Linked DNA regions of Homo sapiens: regions 2 and 3 are each linked to region 1. The links are contacts of gene promoters, found by promoter capture Hi-C in blood cells and fetal thymus (Javierre and others, 2016). All regions are on one chromosome and are shown on one strand. The core of a region is centred on a gene start or on the middle of the fragment in contact, and the rest is flanking DNA. Distances in the headings are between cores, read along the strand shown.

What was found. The method cuts DNA at HindIII sites, captures the fragments that hold promoters and counts their contacts. A CHiCAGO score of 5 or more calls a contact.
Region 2: a fragment that was not itself captured here is called in contact with the fragment with the promoter of TMEM108 in region 1 in 1 of 17 cell types (megakaryocytes); the score reaches 6.5 in megakaryocytes.
Region 3: a fragment that was not itself captured here is called in contact with the fragment with the promoter of TMEM108 in region 1 in 1 of 17 cell types (megakaryocytes); the score reaches 5.4 in megakaryocytes.

What each region holds. Positions count from the first base shown.
Region 1 is chr3:133,036,788-133,039,757 of GRCh38, forward strand. It overlaps TMEM108 (transmembrane protein 108), which reads left to right and starts at 1,604. Exons shown (of 6, transcript NM_023943.4): 1 at 1,604-1,648. RefSeq lists an enhancer at 1,298-1,592. The HindIII fragment of the contact is 5,754 bases long and covers 1-2,970 here.
Region 2 is chr3:133,247,100-133,250,069 of GRCh38, forward strand. All of the region lies in intron 3 of TMEM108 (transmembrane protein 108), which reads left to right. It overlaps TMEM108-AS1 (TMEM108 antisense RNA 1), which reads right to left. Exons shown (of 3, transcript NR_110812.1): 3 at 1-1,498. Among named protein-coding and RNA genes, the nearest start is that of TMEM108-AS1, 8.5 kb to the right of the region's middle. The HindIII fragment of the contact is 1,408 bases long and covers 869-2,276 here.
Region 3 is chr3:133,206,995-133,209,964 of GRCh38, forward strand. The region is part of intron 2 of TMEM108 (transmembrane protein 108); the gene reads left to right. Among named protein-coding and RNA genes, the nearest start is that of TMEM108-AS1, 49 kb to the right of the region's middle. The HindIII fragment of the contact is 3,586 bases long and covers 1-2,970 here.

The DNA of each region.
Region 1 (2,970 bases), core at 354-2,853:
AATCTCCAGGCACAGGGCCCCACAACCTACTTCCATAAATACTTACCATCCAGCTAGGCTTGAGAACCACTGGTTTAATGACAGCAAACAAACTTTTTTTGAGGCTTTCAAAACATTTTTCTTGCTTAGACATTTCTTTACTCCTGCTGTAGCCAGAACCATTGCTGTGACAGGTTTAACATGTTCCCAGAAACTCTGAATTTTGTGCGATGCCATCTCTGATAGGGACAATGTGATGAACAATGTCTGAGATTGCTAGGTGGGCTTCACTTCTGGGGATGAGAAGCCAGAGAAGTTCAGGACACACTGACAAAGGTGAAGTTTTCTCTAAGCGACAGTTTGATCACCTTGATAGTGAGAGAGAAATGCTGAAGCAGGGTTATACCACCTGGTTTCAAGAGATGAGAGATGAAGGTTTTGGAGAATTCAGCACTTAAGAATCTTGAACCACGGCGGTACACTACTGGGTAATAAGAGCTTGGCTACGCTGAACGACAAAGGTTCTAGCTGGCCAGTCCGAAAACACTGAGTCCTTAGGTCAAATTTGAGAAATGACAGGGCCAGTGGGAGTCCTAACTTCTAGACTCTGGAATTACTGACAGAAGAATATTTGGACAGTTTTTAAGACCCTCAAGGCATATTATTTTACAACCTCTTTAGCTTATGCCTGAATTTGTGCTGTGACTGTTAGCTTCCCGGATGTTTTCTCCACATGCTTCTTTCTGAACTAGCCTGTATAGTTCTACAACAAATTGTTACGTTTTGAGAAGCAGGGACCACTTATACCACTTCTCTGGCCAAGTGTCTGGCACCGCGCCACTCAGACACACACGCCCAACCCTTTAGGATTAACGTAGACACAGTGTTCTCTTCCATGGCCATTCCGTCTCCACTTCTGGTTCCACACTCCAGTCACCAAGTTGGCATGATTGCTGCTCCATAGACCAAGGGTGGGTAATGTGGGGATTAAACACACCTTCCCTCAGCTGGTGCCCAAACTGTAAGCATCACCGGGACACCCCATGTAGCCACAGGAACGCTTCTCATCAGTGGAAGAAGGACAAGAAAGGTCGTGCAAGTTTCAAATTACGTGGAGCTGGGGCTACAGCCATTACTTTCGGACAGGTGCAATTCAAAGCGTGATCCTCCGACCAAGAGCTTCGTCATCGCCACCTGGGAGCTTATTAGAAATGCAGGATCTCAGGTCTCCACCCCAGACCTTCTGGATCAGAATCCGCATTTTAACAAGAGAGTCAAGTGATTCTTATTTATATTAGAATTTGAGAAGTCAATTGATCTGGTAATTGATCAACTGAGTGCCACTTAGCCCCCGAAAACAGAGACCCTTTGTGCCCGCCTCGCACCCGCTCTGCTAGGTAGCAACCGAACCCCCAGAGACATCGGAGCGGGCGCTGCCGAGGGCAATTTGGTGATTGGCTGGTCTCACCACGTGACCGGCGCTGAGCCTTCCGTGCGACCGGATTGGCTGTCGCGGACGCTGACGGACAAGGCCGGGGCGGGCCAGAGCCTGGTCGGAGGGGCGCGCGCGGGGGCCCGAGGGGCGAAGGCGCGAGTGCGCGAGAGCGCGTGCGCGAGCGGTGGGGCTTTCTCCTGAGCCGTCGGAGGGAGCCGGAGCGCTTCTCCCGAGGTAAGCGGCGCTCCGGGGCGTCCCCCCAGTCCTTCCCATGCTGGGTCCCGGCAAGCGGGTTAGGCTGGGCTGGGCGGGGCTCGGGGAGGTGTGGGGTCAGCTTGCCCCGGGAGCCCAGCTTCAGGGAGGATGCAGCCCCGGTTGCCTTGGTTTCCCTTTTCCTATCCTCTCAGGCACCTTCCCATCCTCCCCACTGCGTGACGGGTCTGCCCGAGGGGAGTTGCCCACCTGGCAGCCCTGCCTCCGCCTTTGTTTCCCGCCTGGAGGGTTGCTGGCATGAACCCCCTCCCCAGGTGGAGGGTGCGGGTGATGGGGCGCGGGCGTCAGGAGCGCTGGACCTGGGCTGGGGCCGAGGAGGAGGTGGCTTTAATGCAGGGGGACCTGTCACATGGGGAAACGAAGAAGAAGAAATGTAGTGTCACTTTGGCCAGCCCGAGGGACTCGAACTAATCCTGCGGCCGCGAGCGGAGCCGAATTCCTAGCGCAGCTGTGCGAAGAGCCCTCCTGCCTAGGTGCCGGCGGCCTCGCCGGGGACGGAGCCTCCGTGCTGCCCGGGAGGTTGCTCTGCCGGCTGGACCTGGCGGTTTTCACCCCAGAGTTGCAGCGAAATTGAACGCTTTGAGCCTGCTGGAGGAATCCAGAGATTGGTTCAGGGGCTATTTTTTTTTTTAAGCAGTTGGGCACCGGTGGAGCCGGTCTAAATGAAAGTCTACAAAAACCAATTTCAGATGCAGCGTAACTGATGACTGGTAAATGGTGAGGAGGGAAATGCCTGCAGTGAACTGCAGACCACCACACTGAGATTCTTCCTTAAGAAGATAGGGGTTTTTTTCGGAGGAAAGGTTGTAGTTTCTGCAAACAGGTTTTTCTGGGGGTACCCAGGAAGGTTATTACTTATTTTCAGCATGTTACTGGGTTGTGGGGAGAGGGAAGGCAGGGTCTAAACTAAACCTACTCACACGTCCTTAATTCTTTGAAAAGTGTGTGCTCGATGAAGACCATTTGGCTGCCAAAAGAGGTTTGTATGGGAGTCCGGGGGAGATGGATTGTTGCCTTTAAATCATACTTTAAAAAGGGGAAGGTATGTCCAGGAACTTAAGAGCAGGTCAAGCTATGGAAAGTATTCCCTGCCTCTCCTCCATTTCCCCAGACAGCTCATAGGCAAACATAAAAAGTCCCTTCAATTTTCCACGGGTTAACTTCTTGATTTGTTGGATACACCTGGTAATCTACTCTGTAAGAAATGGTTCAACTAACTCATTATGAAGATATTACTGTGTTCTGGACTTTCCACGTAATTTATTCAGAACTCTTTCTGGTAT
Region 2 (2,970 bases), core at 323-2,822, 210 kb after region 1:
TGTCTCAAATAAAACCTTCAATCACAATAATTTGCAGGTAGTGCTATTTTCCAAATGAACAAACTGTCAAGAATGGGATCCTTAGAAGACAGCCCTCCTTTAAATCCCTCTCTGCTTAGTTCATCGTTATTTTTTACTTTATAACATGGTTGAAGAAAAGTTTATATCAAGAATAATAGAAGTGTCAGCCTGCCTTTTGCTTGTTGTTCACTTGTGCTTCCATTATTAGCATTGCCTTCAATCCAGTGTTTATTTCAGATGTCTTTTTAAGCTACCTGCCCATGTTTTAGGAGCTAACATTTCAAAGTAGATAACAGAATAGGCAAATCCCCTCACTTGGATACAAGTAAACTGCAAGGCTTCCTAGTGTCCTGAGTGTTAAGGAAATAGGGTAGGCCCCACTTCTGAGCCTTCCCAGATGGGGAGCTTCCCCTCTTTCATTAAGATGCCACCTGTCTCAGAGGCCAACCAGAAAATTTTGAAATCACCAAAAGGACTATTTTCAATCCATATTTATATTCACTGTTATTCATAATAATCCTAAAAAAAAAATAAAAAATAAATAAATCCCTCTCTGCAACCCCTGGGTGGCACCAGATCATTTGGTACCCTTCTGTTTTCATGATCTTTCAACACACTTTTATAAAGAATCTACTATGTGCTAGGTATTATGCTAAGCACTGGGAATGAAAAGACATGAACCCTGCCCTCCAAGAGTTCCCAGGCCAGTGGAGAAAAAAGGCTTCACATAGAAAACTGTGGTACAAATGCAGTCTCCTTTATCAGATAGCACACCTGCTGGGGTTATGGCTGTGTGAAAAACTCTAGGGATGCAGAGAGATATAAAGCATAATTTCTTCTCTCCAAAAGCTTATAGTATAATCAAGGAGAAAGGGCAGAATATGAAAAAATAGTGTGTTATAGGATACAGTAGGAAGCTATAAGTCAAGCCATGTTCTTAAATCCAACTTAACTAGTAATAAAAATAATGTTTGATCCACCTCTGACTCCTCTATGTATGTTTGAATTAGTTCTGAACTTGGAGAGAGGCAACAATTAGTCCTCTTAACCAATATAACAACCAAAGGAGACTGACGATAACAAGCCTTTTGTACTTTATGGTGTTTTCCCATCTAATATGCTGTTGACTCATCCTGACAAGCCTGTTGATAGGCATCATTTTAATACCATGTTACTATAAAGAAAATACAATGCCCTAAAAGCCAAGTGTTATGCCTAAAATCCTAGAACTAGGAACATGGACTGAGATTGTCTTACTCCAAGTCCAGTATATTTTCCAGAATCCCAGAGCTTCGGTAGGCACCGCCTTTGTATTTGGAAAACTGTGACCCACTGAAGACAGTTGTGCCATCTGATTGTGTGTCTCTTGATGGAGTTTATAACTTCAGCCAGTGAACTGCTCCAGCCTTTCCCTTGCAGTATGCTTTATCTTGTTTTAGCAGCTTTAGTAGTTGGTCTTTTTGTTTCTCCCCTGGGTCTGTTTAAAAAAATAAAACAAACAGTAGCAGGATAGAGGTACTGGCTCTCAAATCAGATATTGGCTGGGTAATATTTAGGAAAGGAAATGTTGCAACCCATTATGGCAGTGGGTTATTCCTTTTATAAGCTGAGGAATCTGTAGCTCATTTAGCCTCATTATTTTTTGGTTAGCAGGCTCTGGTTGTGCCATCCTTATGGCTGTATTTTTAGAAGTCTTGGATTATTATAGCAACTGTGAAAAAGGATGGGGAAAGAAATCTGGCTTCTAATATACATCCACTTAATTGTTTCTTGAATTAAATTAGCCTTCATCTAGCCCTCAGAGAATGCACTCACTCCTGCTGCTGATTAAAAGCTGCTACCTTTGCGTGGTCACTGAGGGGGTTATCAGATGATGAAAGAGGTATTTCAGGGTGCTGGTGGGCCTCCTCCTCATCCAGTTTATTCCAGGTACCAGCTGGGCCTGGGAGGGTAGAGGTAGGAAAGGCCAGAAAGGAAGCATGTATAATCATGACATCTCCTTCACAGTGCCAAAAGAAATATTCACAATTTGCGTCAAGTCTGATACTCTAGTTGTGGAACTTAAGCCTCTTCATTGAAGCTGATGTGATAGGAGGAAGAGACAGTAATGGGACAGCCCCACTGTGTTTCAGAGGGTGAAAAGAAACTGAGGAAATAAATAAAGACGGAAAACTATTAGGCTGCATCAGTGCAGTAAAGGGCAGAGAATGTTAGCCCTTAAACTATTTCTGTCACACTGTGGTTAATTATAGAAAAGCTTTGAAGGGGTTGAGGGGAAAAACGAGAGTAGGGAACACTCTGAGCATGACAGATGTAAACCGATGTTTTACTGCTCCTCCTTCCCTCCACCTTCCAGTAGTCTCCAGTGTCTATTGTTGCCATCTTTATGTCCATGAGTACCCAATGCTTAGCTCCCACTTATAAGTGAGAACATGTGCCATTAGGTTTTCTGTTTCTGCATTAATTCACTTAGTATAATAGCCTGTAGCTCCATCCATGTTGCTGCAGAGGACATGGTTTTATTCTTTTTTATGGCTGTATAGTATTCCATGGTGTACATGTACCACGTTTTCCTTATCCAGTCCACTGTTGATAGGTACCTCAGTTGATTCCACGTCTTTGTTATGGTGAATAGTGCTGAGATGAACATATAAAGTACCATAATTTTAAATTAACTTCTGTGGTGAATAAATTTTCACTACATTAAGGAACAAAGAGCTTTTAAATTATTTGAGTAATATGGTAATTTAAGTGACTATCATGCATATAATAGAAACATTTTTAATAAGAAAAGGAAATTTCAGTTTATGAAAATCATTATATGTTTTTAATTTTTTTAAGAGAAAGGGTCTCACTATGTTGCCCAGGCTGGCCTAGAACTTCTAGGCTCAAGCAGTCCTCACAACTTGGCCTCCAGAGTAGTTATGTGTACTTTTTAAACTTCAAACA
Region 3 (2,970 bases), core at 222-2,721, 170 kb after region 1:
CCTGCCTAGAGAGGAGGAATCTAGGGAGGCAGTCTGGCTACAGAGGGTTTGCGGAGCTGTGGTGGGGCTCTGCCCAGTTTGAACTTCCCAGTGGCTTTGTTTACAATGTGAGGGGAAAAACCCGCCTACTCAAGCCTCAGGGCCCTGGTGTTGCGAAGACCATGGGAAAAGCATAGTATCTGCATTGGAATGCACCGTTCCTCAGGATACAGTCCCTCAAGGCTTCCCTTAGCTATGGGAGGGAGTTCCCTGACTCCTTGCACTTCCCAGGTGAGGTGACGCCCCACCCTGCTTCTGCTTGCCTTCCATGGGCTGAACCCACTTTCTAACCAGTCCCAGTGAGGAGCCAGGTACTTTAGTTGGAAATGCAGAAGTCACCCGCCTTCTGCATTGATCTCACTGGGAGCTGCAGACCAGAGCTGTTCCTGTTTGGCCATCTTGCCAGCCCTCCCCTGGACCTCTGATTTGAGCTGATTTGTCAGGCGAAGTGGCTTACATGTTTGATTTACCTGTAAGTATTGGCTATCATCGTAAAGTTTTTTAGGTTCTGGATGAGAGGTTTATTTGAAAGTAGTTGTTCCAGGATTTAATTATTTAAATCAATTCTGACTGCCTTTGTTTAGAATTTTAATTCAGTGAAAGGTCTAGTTCTTAATGGTTATATGTAACCACAACAGAGACAAGAAATTCATTGCAATTAAATTGTTGGTTTTCCTCACACAAAGCTCATGTTTTAATGCTCCCCTCCATATGGGGGTCAATCATATAGCATTAACATTAATAGCCTAATAAGTCTAATAATGAAGATGTGTAGCATGTTAAAATTAGCCATTAGAATTCAAACATACCACACTCAATGCATGCAACAAGATCCACAAATGCCAACACTACCCATCTGTTTGAACTAATGAGCTGTAAACATTTCCCCCACTGGTGAACTAATAAATTATAGCATGTTACAATTGAAAGGGACCTTGGAGATAGATCTTTCTGTTCCAGCTACCTCTTTCTTCATTTTGTTGGTCCTATATAAAGGTATATTATTTATCCAAGGTCACAGTTGTACAGTAAAACCCTGCCATGGCATAATAGGCCCAGAAATTCCTGTGTGTAAAGCAGGGGTTCCCAAACGTTAGTATACATCCTGGAGAGCTTGTTGAAGCACAGATTACTGGGCCCCACCCTTAGAGTTTCTGATTCAGTGGGTCTGAGGTAGAACCTGATCATTTTCATTTCTAACAAGCTCCTGGGTGCTGCTTGTGGTCTGAGGACCAAACTTTGAGAACCACTTGTGTAGACCACGTGGTAACATTACTGTGAAGTTAATGGAATGATGAAAGCCAGCCTACATAGTTAGCCAGCCTTGAGTTCTGAGGATCTAGCTGCAGGAGCCAGATCTATCCAGGTGTAAACTTGGGTTTGCCACCATCTAGTGTTAGTCATCTAAAGCTGTGTAAACATTGATGGGGATGATTCTGGATCCTGTAGCTGGCTGGGGCTTCCAGCTATCCCATGGTTAGTAGGCATTTATTTCTTCTATTGATTTGGGAAGATTGTGCTTTGGGGACCCAGCTCCCATCTTGCTGATTTCCAACTACCACCAGCTACTTCCCTGTCAGTCTTGTCCTCTCCTGAATATATTCTCCCCTCCTCTAGAAGACAAGAACATTGGCCCAACTCTTTCAGAAGCTGGAGAGCCAGTCACATTACATCCAAAACTGTATTGGGGAAGGCTTTTACAGCAGCCAGTGGTAGATCTCCTGTTGTTTAATGTACTCATTCTCAAACTCCTGCCTCACTGTCTTACCTCTGTGCCTTTGCATTTTCCATCACTCTTAACCTTCAAGGTTTAGCTGAATTTCCACCTCCTTCAGAAACCTTGTCTTCCTACTCTAGAAGATAACAACTTTTCTTTTAAAGAGAAAATAGGGCATGATTCTGGTACTTTTGCGTTCCAGACTTTGTGTGGATGTTCGTGTCATTTTATTCTCAAAACTATCTTGCAGTATAGACGTTGTACCCATTTTATTGATAGTAATGCTGAGACTCAAGAAGGGTAAGGCTTTTAAGAGACAGGGTCTCACAGTTGCCCAGGCTGAAGTGCAGTGGCACAATCATAGCTCACTGAAACTTCAAACTAGCTCAAGGGATCCTGCTGCCCCAGCCCCTTCTAAGTAGCTCTGACTATAGACACAGGCCACCACACCTGGCTAATTTTTTTTTTTTTTTTAAGGAATGGGGTTTTGCTATTTTGCCAAGCTGGTCTCAACTCCGGCCTCAAGCAGCCTTCCTGCCTTGGCCTTCCAAAGACCTGGGATTATAGGCATGAGCCACCATGCCTGCCCCATTTTCTAATTTGTTAGAATATAATTTGCTATGATATACCTTGTCTAATACAAGTGCATTAGACAAATACATAGGCAAAGCTGTCTATAGAGTGGTTTTTGACAAGATAGTCTCTCTCCATGCCATGCTGCAAGCTCTTAAAGATGGGGAGCATGTCTCATTTGTTTTTATTCTCAGCCCCAGCCCCTCCTATTAGCACAGTGCATGTTAAGTTGTGGCACTCAGTATTTTCCAAAATGGATCTCCTGGCTTACTGCTGTGTATACTGCATCTTCCTGCCCCGCTTCTCTGTGCAGTTGGCTATGGTCCCCAGCGGGGAAGGAGGTTCCTTTGGTGTAGTCTCTCCTCCATTGCCCCCACTCAGAATTTGCAGCATCAACTGTTTTCTCTCAGTCTATCTTCTCTATGAATGCCATCTTCAGGAAAAGGAGCACTTTTCTACCCTGAGAATGAATGATTTAGAGATGAGGGTGGTTTCAGCTTCATGCCAAGCTCATAGTCTGGGGGTGGCTTCCCACACCCTCTTCACTTCCCTGAACCTCATCTCTCTCCTTTTCAGTCACTATCTCCTTATTCTTCAAGACATCCCTATGAATCAAGCAGTAGGGACAAGTGAGAGGCTTA